Linked DNA regions of Homo sapiens: regions 2 and 3 are each linked to region 1. The links are contacts of gene promoters, found by promoter capture Hi-C in blood cells and fetal thymus (Javierre and others, 2016). All regions are on one chromosome and are shown on one strand. The core of a region is centred on a gene start or on the middle of the fragment in contact, and the rest is flanking DNA. Distances in the headings are between cores, read along the strand shown.

Region 1 (3,197 bases), core at 69-2,568:
GGCTCAATAAGCTTTACATGTATTCATCAGACCTAAATAAAAACAAAGATTGTCTTCTAGTTATATAGGTCAAAATTACAGATACACACACACAGCTTTATACATACATACGTGTAATTTTAAACTGATGAATTTTAATGATCGTTTGGCAAAACATGCCATTATGCAAAGGGGCTTTTACTCGTATAACTTTATATGTTTATTTAGACATTTTAATTAATACGTCTATATGGAGTACAGGTGTATTATCAGTGTAATTAAACTCTGATATGATATTAGAAAGCTACAGTACACTGCAGACAATTTACAAGGGTCATCTCTGGCCTGGTGTTCTCAAAGGCCTCCGGATTTGCCGTTCATCAGGTAAGATGAACAGCTTTGCGTTGCTACCTTCAAAAATTCTTTTTTTTTTTTTTTGAGAGAGAGTCTCGCTCTGTCTCCAGGCTGGAGTGCAACCTCCACCTCCCGGGTTCAAGCGATTCTCCTGCCTCAGCCTCCCGAGTAGCTAGGACCACAGGCGCGCCCAGCTAATTTCTGTATTTTTAGTAGAGACAGGGTTTCATCATGTTGGCCGGGATGGTCTCAATCTCCTGACCTCGTTATCCGCCCGCCTCGGCCTCCCAAAGTGCTGGGATTACAGGGGTGAACCACCGCGCCTGGCCTCAGAAACCATCTCCATCTCCCTTACCACCTGAGGGGTCACTGGTGACCACACCCATGGAATCGGCTGGATCTCCTGCGGGGCTGGACAATTTGACCCTCCTCCTCCCCAGGCCCCGCCCCTTCCCCCCTGAGTCTTTCGGCCTGGGTGGAGGACGCGGCTGCTTCAAGTCCTTGGCTCTGATCCAGGCCACAGATTCCAGGTTAGTGAGCAAGTTTATTTTCTGGCCAGCTACCGCTGTCCCCACTTGTCTGGAGAGTTTGACCCGCTCTGCAGGTCGGGTTGGGGGTGGTTCACGGGTGAAAGAAGAATGAGGGAGACTTCTGCATTTTCAAGTGAACTCAAGTTTGGGAAGGGAGCACAGAAGAGGCACCTTTGCAGCTGGGAATAGGCCGTGTAAAGAGAGTTAAACCTCTATTCTACAAGCTGAAGTATGTAGAGGAGGCAGCTCTGGAAACTGCTTTAGGGAATCACTGCAAACCATTTTGTCAGGCGTGGATTCAGAGTCAGCATCCCTTCCCCCCTTCCCCCGTTCTCCCCTTCCCCCCTTCCCCCTTCCCCCTTCCCCCTTCCCCCTTCCCCTCCCCCATCTCCAGCCTGGCCGCTCCAGGAAGTGAGCACCGTTTATCCCCCACCCCAGGCGGCCCGACTCCTCCCAGAAGGAGTTGGGAGATGAGCCTTCCGCAAACTCCTGACCTGTGGGTCCGTCCGTTCAACGGCCAAAGGCTGGCGGAGGAGGGATCCCCTGCCTTTCTCGGAACGGAACGGAGCAGAGTCGTGCGTGGTTGAGTTTAGATAAAAGCCGAGTGAGCGCGCTCTGTTCCTTAAGATTAGTTTAAGGTGCCTTGGATTGCTCTGAAGAGCTTTGACCACCTGATATTGCTTACATCTGGAACTTCTTGGCTTCTCATTCCCCAGATGTGCGGGTCAGAGAGGTATGTCTACCGTTCTGTTGACTGGCTCTTATTGTCACTTCTGGCAGAGGTGACAGGGCAGTGAAAGAGATAAGGTCCTTTCCCTTTCGGAACTCATTATATCTTTATTTCTTTTTCTTTCTCACTGCAAATGACCCCACTGAGGTTAGAGACATTTTAATCAGTCAGTCAATAGAGACAGAAATGTGTGGTTAGGAGCATAGATGCCGCAGCCAGACTGCATGTGTTCAAATCCTGACTCTGACAGACACTGGCTGTGTGCCCGAAGACTGTTAACTTGACTTCTTTGAGCTTTAGTTTCTTCCATCTATAAGATGGACGGAGTAATATGTATATCTTAGAGTTTTGGTGAGGATTGAGTGAGACAGATTTAAACACGTAGGAGGCTGCCTGACACAAATTATGGTCATTATTACTGGCAAACTCCATGCCTAGCTTTAAAAAAATGCACAATCAAAACAATTTTTAAATTATAGGTTTCTGAAATGCAGGGGGTAGAAATTCTTTTGAAGTGGAAATTAAATTTTTTGTTTTGAAACTGATTATGTTCCAATTCAAATATTTATTGAGTCCTGTTAGATAATCAATTGCAGATAATAGGTTAAATATAACCCTACACAAAGATAAAAAAAAATGTTATTCCTAAAGTGCAAGAACTCATGCCCAACTCACTTATAAATGCAACTGCCACCTATTTTATTCCACTTTCACTAGGGCTCCCAGCTGGTGGACGGGCCCGCTCTGTCATTCCTAACTCTGAACCCCCAGCCTACACCAGCCCCAGTATCCCCTGCTGAGTCACTGATTTTTATTCTGAAAGCCATTTTGATATCGATGCAAGCTTCCATTCTAAAAGATGCTTCGTATCTAAATAGCAGGCCATTCTCTGTCCCCCTCCCTCTTCTAGCTGTTTTGCACCCTAAATTGTATCCACCTGGGAAAGAAGGTCCTTTATCTAAGGCAGTGCTTCTGAAGCCTTAATGTGCGTAAGAATCACCTAGAGAACTTTAATATTAAAGTGCAGATTCTGAATCATTCCAGGAAAGACTGAGATTCTGCATAAAGAACTCCAAGTGCTTGCAGTGTTGCTAGTTAGCAGACCTTTTTCAGGCGTCTGGTTCTGATTTAATTGGTCCCACCTGGTTGTGAATTTGGGCTCTTTCTTCTGCTAATTTGATGCACTGGGCTCTGGGACTGCAGGCTCTTCTCGTCTGCACTCCTCACAGTCAGAATGCCTTCTCTCAGCCCGTCCACACTGCTCTGGAGACTTGGCCTCAGTTGGAAACTGGCAGCCTCCCATATCTCCCTTGGGCTGCACTTAGCTGCAGTGGGCAGTCAGGGCTTGCTGGTGTGTGGGCAAGGGTCACCTATGCTAACTGTATGCTCCCCTCCTTCACAATTTCTTTCCCAAGCCTCAGCTTTGACAAGAGACCTCAACTCTTACAAATCTTTTTTCTGCTCAAGAATTTTTCTCTGTCTAAAGAGAGTATTAGATGAATATCTACAGCGCATATTAGATAGGAAAAAGACATATAATGAACTAGAAATAGAATGAAGCCACATATGTAATGTTACATACTCAAGTAGCCTCATTAAAAATA
Region 2 (3,270 bases), core at 266-2,765, 310 kb after region 1:
GGAAGTTTTTTCTTAGAGACTGAAGGGAGGAAAGACATGGGAAGTGCAGGATTGCTATATTTTGGAAACTTTCTGCATGGTTTCCTGTGTAAGTGAGGCAAATATTTAAAAGTGAGAGTGTCTTTTTAACTATATTTCATATTCCCTCTCTAGGTCTCTTATGCTATATTATGGAGTTAAAGAATGGATTTTCTGTTTCCCCAAGAAATAGACACCATGCTGTGAAAGAAGTTATGGTTTCTCACTGGAAGCAAGAAAACTCATGCAAGAAATGTGTCTGTAGGGAATGGCCACCAATATGCTTCATACCAACAATACACAGTTTCACCCTTCCACCTTCCTCGTAGTGGGGGTCCCAGGGCTGGAAGATGTGCATGTATGGATTGGCTTCCCCTTCTTTGCAGTGTATCTAACAGCCCTTCTAGGGAACATCATTATCCTGTTTGTGATACAGACTGAACAGAGCCTCCACCAACCCATGTTTTACTTCCTAGCCATGTTGGCCGGCACTGATCTGGGCTTGTCTACAGCAACCATCCCCAAGATGCTGGGAATTTTCTGGTTTAATCTTGGAGAGATTGCATTTGGTGCCTGCATCACACAGATGTATACCATTCATATATGCACTGGCCTGGAGTCTGTGGTACTGACAGTCACGGGCATAGATCGCTATATTGCCATCTGCAACCCCCTGAGATATAGCATGATCCTTACCAACAAGGTAATAGCCATTCTGGGCATAGTCATCATTGTCAGGACTTTGGTATTTGTGACTCCATTCACATTTCTCATCCTGAGATTGCCTTTCTGTGGTGTCCGGATTATCCCTCATACCTATTGTGAACACATGGGCTTGGCAAAGTTAGCTTGTGCCAGTATTAATGTTATATATGGATTGATTGCCTTCTCAGTGGGATACATTGACATTTCTGTGATTGGATTTTCCTATGTCCAGATCCTCCGAGCTGTCTTCCATCTCCCAGCCTGGGATGCCCGGCCTAAGGCACTCAGCACATGTGGCTCTCACGTCTGTGTTATGTTGGCTTTCTACCTGCCAGCCCTCTTTTCCTTCATGACACACCGCTTTGGCCACAACATCCCTCATTACATCCACATTCTTCTGGCCAATCTGTATGTGGTTTTTCCCCCTGCTCTTAACTCTGTTATCTATGGGGTCAAAACAAAACAGATACGAGAGCAGGTACTTAGGATACTCAACCCTAAAAGCTTTTGGCATTTTGACCCCAAGAGGATCTTCCACAACAATTCAGTTAGACAATAATGAGATCATAACAAAATAAACACTGGAAACATTTTTTTTACTACTTCTCTTGCATTCCCACATGAGCCAATAGCATTATATCCCCTACAACGTCTCATGATTTCAGTACGGTCTGTTGGAAGTTATAGCTCAAAGATTCCAAAACAATCTCTCTGTTTCACCCATTAAAAGTGCAAAAAGTACTCACACTTAAGCCCCATGATACTACAAAATGCCTAAAGAGAAACAAAGGCTTTGTAAAAGTTATTGCCCAGTAATTGTCTTGAATAGCCTTTCCACATGAAGATTCTCTGTATTTACATATCCAAAGCTGAAGTTCATGACGATTAAAATGATGTGGTATTTCATCAAAACCAGGCAGGATACAGTGGCAAGAGAAATTAACTAGGAGTCATAAGATCTAGATTTAAATACAGGTTATGGCCTTACCTAAAATTTTGACCTGAGCATTTCACTTAGACTCTTTGAGTTCACAATAACAAATTCATACTGATTTATAGCATTTTATGAGCAGGGATATTGAAGCTTAAAGTGAATGTTGTGAAAATCTGTGCAGCTTGTAAAACATTAAAAGATTTGGAAACAAAATGAGTGCTTACTAAACATAATTATAGTGTAATTGTTATTTCTAATGTATGTAGATTTCATTTACTAATCCACTCTAGTATACAATCCCTGGTTTGAGGTCAGCTCTCCAGATCCAGATTATCCCAACGCATGGGCCTCTTCATGGACCTCTCAGCTCTTACCTTCGTGAAAGAGACTTTCAGTCAGGAGACTATAAAGCTTGAAGAGTTAACAGGTTTCTGTCTTGGGCTTAAGGACTCAGGGAAATCCCATCCTCCACAGTCTTTGCTAGAGTGGGTTTTAGGGCAGACTGTAATAGTGTGGCTGCTGAAATAATATAAAGTCATTCTTAATAAGGTATAGAAGATAAATAGGACAATTTATTTCTTTGGGTATTCTAGGAGCTGCAAAAATGTGAAGTTGGCTCCTAATTGGAAATGGAGCCCTGATTGAAACTCAAGGTAGAATGAGCAGAAATGTACAGAGAATAGTGCGAAAGTAATAACAATATAAATAACAGTATAAATTGACAAGTGGAAGTAAACTGAAGTGATATGTCATATAAATATATAAAGAAAAAGTAACCAAGTAATCATTTTCTAAGTAGATATTTTGAAATTGATACAGAATTTAAAAAAAACTAAACAGATCATTTAACAAGGAATAAAGATGACAAAAAATTCATTGTGGAGTGTCTTCTAAGTAAAATACCACTTTTCAATTATAGTTTATTTAATGTATTATTATATAATATTTCAACTACGAAAATCTCATTTTAGAGCCTGAATATTTACATTTGTATATTTAAAGGCTCTAATATGTTCAATTTTGTTCACTCTACCCAAAATATGTTAAACCACCAGACCACTTAATTTTGGTATCATACGTTAAGAACTTCGACTAAGAGTTTTCCTGTATCATTTCTGAGACTTTGCTAAATGTCACGTGCTCCAGAAAGTGAGTAATCTGAATGGAAATGGGTAACAGAGAACTTTAATTTCTAAGGAGCATAGAAGCTAATACAGAAGAGAAAACCCCATTCATTACCAAGTATATGTTCCAGGGGCTGTAACATGGGAGCCAGGAGCATATTTGAAAACAGCACAGTGTGCACATAGAATTCCCAAGAAAGGAAAGTTGTTTAGGGAGTTTATCAAGCTCTAGAGTTTTTTTTTTTTTTAACTGAATTTGTACAAAGCCATCAATACTGCAAGTCTTGGAGCAGGTCGGCTGAGCTATGCCAAATGCTATGGTAAACACTGAATATTGGTCATCTTGGCTGAGTCCATGTCTGTGAAACATTGGCATGCTTCAAGCCAATCTAAAAGAATTCAACTTTGTTTATTATTTCAAAATTTCAAGGCTGCTGAAAGGTAGGTCTTTATACACAGTCACTTTATTTGCTAGCTGAGTATTTTCAT
Region 3 (3,281 bases), core at 567-3,066, 510 kb after region 1:
TGGCTCACGCCTGTAATCCCAGCACTTTGGGAGGCCAAGGCAGGCAGATCACCTGAGGTCAGGAGTTTGAGACCAGCCTCGCCAACATGGTGAAACCCCATCTCTACTAAAAATACAAAAATTAGCCGGGTGTGGTGGCACACACCTGTAATCCCAGCTACTCGGGAGGCTGAGGCAGGAGAATCGCTTGAACCTGGGAGGTGGAGTTTGCAGTGAGCCGGAAAAAGAAAAAAAGTGGATCTCACAGAAGTAATGAATAGAATGGTGGTTACCAGAGGCCGGAAAGGGTGGGGGTAGGGGAAGAATAGAGGGTGGCTGATGGGGACAAAAATACAGTTAGGTGGAAGAAATAAGTTCTAGTATTCAATAGCACAGTAGGAAAATTATAGTTAATAATTTACTGTATGTTTCAAAATCGCTAAAAGAGAATTGCAATGTTCCTAACACAAAGAAAAGATAAATGCTTGAGGTGATGGATATCCTAATTACACTGATTCGATCATTACACATTGTATACATGTATCAAAATATCACATGTACCTCCAAAATATCTACAAATATGATATATCAATTCTAAAAATACAAAAAAAAATCATTAAACTATAGGGCATCTAGGTGGTAGAAAATAATGCAACTTAACTGCAGTATGGAAATATGGAGCAGTCTTCAAAATATTAAGTTAAAAAAGAAAAGGAAAGAAAAAAGGAGAAAGGTGTGCTAACAATTGATTATGTCTTTTATGAAAATTATATATATATATATATATATATATATATGTTTTTATCCATGCATAAACTATTAATGGAAGGATTCCCAAGAAACATATTACTGGCTGCCTCTAGTGAAAAGGAAAAAGATTTCAAAGCCCCAAGCATGAGAGTCTTACTTTTCATTGTTTATATTTTTCATTTTATTTTGATTTTTACCATGTATAGATAATATATCTTAAAATAAAATCAAAATTATATTTAAAATTTTAAGACTATTATATCCTTTGTATATATAATTTTTGCATCACTTTTGAAACTCTACTCAAGGAAAACAATATTAAAAGCAAAATACCTGTCAGTAAATTATAGAATAGCCAAATGCAAAAATTTAAAGCAGCAATTAAAATTAACATCACACTTTTTAAATAATATTGTGAAGTCTTTGGTTAATGTATTCATCCATGAAATAAAATTTTTGAGTGCTTATATTACATCTTAACACATACTGCTAAAAGACAAAAACAAGATACAAAATCATCTCTAGATAATGATGTAGACTGTTTAAAAATAAAATAGAAAATTGGAAATAAATCAAATACTAACATTTGTTATCTGTTAGTGATAAGACTGTTGTTAATATATGTGGACATGCTTATTAGACATACAAGTGGTGATGAAAAATAGTTATTCCAACTCTTCTGTTTAGAATTTTTTTGCTTTTTTTGTTATTCCTCTGTGGAATATTTCCAGAAGTCAAATAAAGTTGAGGGTCATTCATGAATAAAAGGAGCTGGTTCATTATTGAGGAGCTCTTACCAAGACACTTAACTTTTTGTTTTGTTTTGTTTTTTAAGACAGGGTCTCACTCTGTTGTCCAGGCTGGGGTGCAGTGGCACAATCTCGGCTCACGGCAACCTCCGCCTCCCAGGTTCAATGATTCTCATGCCTCAGCCTCCCAAGTAGCTGGGATTACAGACAGGCACCACCACACCCAGCTAATTTTTGTATTCTCCGCAGAGATGAGATTTTGCCATGTTAGCCAGGTCAGTCTCGAGCTCCTGACCTCAAATTATCTGCCTGTCTCAGCCTCCCAAAGTGCTGGGATTACAGGCATGAACCACGATGCTCAGCCCCTTAGCTGAACTTTTAAACAGAGATTTCTTCTATTTCAGACAGACACTGAGACTGAGGCACCCATTCCATGGATACCTCCACCAGTGTTACCTATGACTCCAGCCTCCAGATTTCCCAGTTCATCCTGATGGGATTACCAGGCATTCATGAGTGGCAGCACTGGCTCTCCCTGCCCCTGACTCTGCTCTACCTCTTAGCTCTTGGTGCCAATCTCCTCATCATAATCACCATTCAACATGAGACCGTGCTACATGAACCCATGTACCATTTGCTGGGCATATTAGCAGTGGTGGACATTGGCCTGGCCACCACCATCATGCCCAAGATCCTGGCCATCTTCTGGTTTGATGCCAAGGCCATTAGCCTCCCCATGTGTTTTGCTCAGATCTATGCCATCCACTGCTTCTTCTGCATAGAGTCAGGCATCTTTCTCTGCATGGCAGTAGACAGATACATAGCCATCTGTCGCCCTCTTCAGTACCCCTCCATAGTCACTAAAGCTTTTGTCTTCAAAGCCACAGGGTTCATCATGCTCAGGAATGGCCTGTTGACCATCCCAGTGCCTATACTGGCTGCCCAGAGACACTACTGTTCCAGGAATGAAATCGAGCACTGCCTCTGCTCTAACTTGGGGGTTATCAGCCTGGCTTGTGATGACATCACTGTGAACAAATTTTACCAACTGATGCTAGCATGGGTCTTGGTTGGGAGTGATATGGCTCTGGTATTTTCTTCCTATGCTGTAATCCTTCACTCTGTGCTGAGGCTGAACTCAGCAGAAGCAATGTCCAAGGCTCTGAGCACTTGTAGCTCCCACCTCATCCTCATCCTCTTCCACACAGGTATCATTGTGCTGTCTGTCACACACCTTGCAGAGAAAAAGATTCCCCTTATTCCTGTGTTCCTTAATGTGCTGCACAATGTCATCCCCCCTGCACTCAACCCCCTGGCCTGTGCACTCAGGATGCACAAACTCAGACTGGGCTTTCAGAGACTGCTTGGACTGGGTCAGGACGTGTCCAAGTAACTCCAGCTTTAGGAATCCAGTAAGATGTTAGGAAATGACAGAGGTTTTAGTTCTCAATAGATCAGGGTTATAATCTGCACTTACCACACTCCCTAGGAAAAAAATGGCCAATAAAATCATGAAAACTGTCAGCCTCACTAATCAAAATATGTATATTAAAATTACAAGAAAATTTCCTATTACCTGGAAAATAAGTAAGAACAAAAAAGTGAAATGTTTCTAACTATTACTGCTAGCCTACCCCGAGATTAACACTTTCCTACACAACTGGTAGGACTATAAACACACCAAAAAGCAATTTGGTAAAATTTATCAAAATGTTTATAAATGTTTAAATGTTCTTAACCAGTAATTCTATTTTAGAAAAATATCCAAAAGAAATAGTCTAAATGCAGTCAAAAAGTTATTCA

The links. Contacts are between HindIII fragments. The CHiCAGO score rates a contact against its expected background, and 5 or more counts as called.
Region 2: a fragment that was not itself captured here is called in contact with the fragment with the promoter of TRIM6 in region 1 in 1 of 17 cell types (megakaryocytes); the score reaches 7.6 in megakaryocytes.
Region 3: a contact is called between the fragment with the promoter of OR56B4 here and the fragment with the promoter of TRIM6 in region 1, in 2 of 17 cell types (neutrophils and total CD8 T cells). The highest score is 8.8, in neutrophils.

The regions. Positions count from the first base shown.
Region 1 is chr11:5,595,319-5,598,515 of GRCh38, forward strand. TRIM6 (tripartite motif containing 6) reads left to right here and starts at 1,319. Exons shown (of 8, transcript NM_001003818.3): 1 at 1,319-1,596. The coding sequence starts at 1,580. TRIM6-TRIM34 (TRIM6-TRIM34 readthrough) reads left to right here and starts at 1,319. Exons shown (of 14, transcript NM_001003819.4): 1 at 1,319-1,596. The coding sequence starts at 1,580. It also overlaps a transcript of TRIM5 not described here. RefSeq lists enhancers at 641-935, 1,090-2,007, 1,254-1,303. The HindIII fragment of the contact is 2,426 bases long and covers 10-2,435 here.
Region 2 is chr11:5,900,479-5,903,748 of GRCh38, forward strand. It overlaps OR52E5 (olfactory receptor family 52 subfamily E member 5), which reads left to right. Exons shown (of 3, transcript NM_001005166.5): 3 at 154-2,252. The coding sequence starts at 299. The coding sequence ends at 1,282. The region is part of intron 2 of LOC112268071 (a long non-coding RNA gene); the gene reads right to left. It also overlaps the pseudogene OR52Q1P. Among named protein-coding and RNA genes, the nearest start is that of OR52E5, 8.9 kb to the left of the region's middle. The HindIII fragment of the contact is 580 bases long and covers 1,226-1,805 here.
Region 3 is chr11:6,105,868-6,109,148 of GRCh38, forward strand. It overlaps OR56B4 (olfactory receptor family 56 subfamily B member 4), which reads left to right and starts at 1,817. Exons shown (of 1, transcript NM_001005181.2): 1 at 1,817-2,968. The coding sequence starts at 1,912. The coding sequence ends at 2,871. The region is part of intron 2 of LOC124902622 (a long non-coding RNA gene); the gene reads right to left. The HindIII fragment of the contact is 4,106 bases long and covers 1-2,342 here.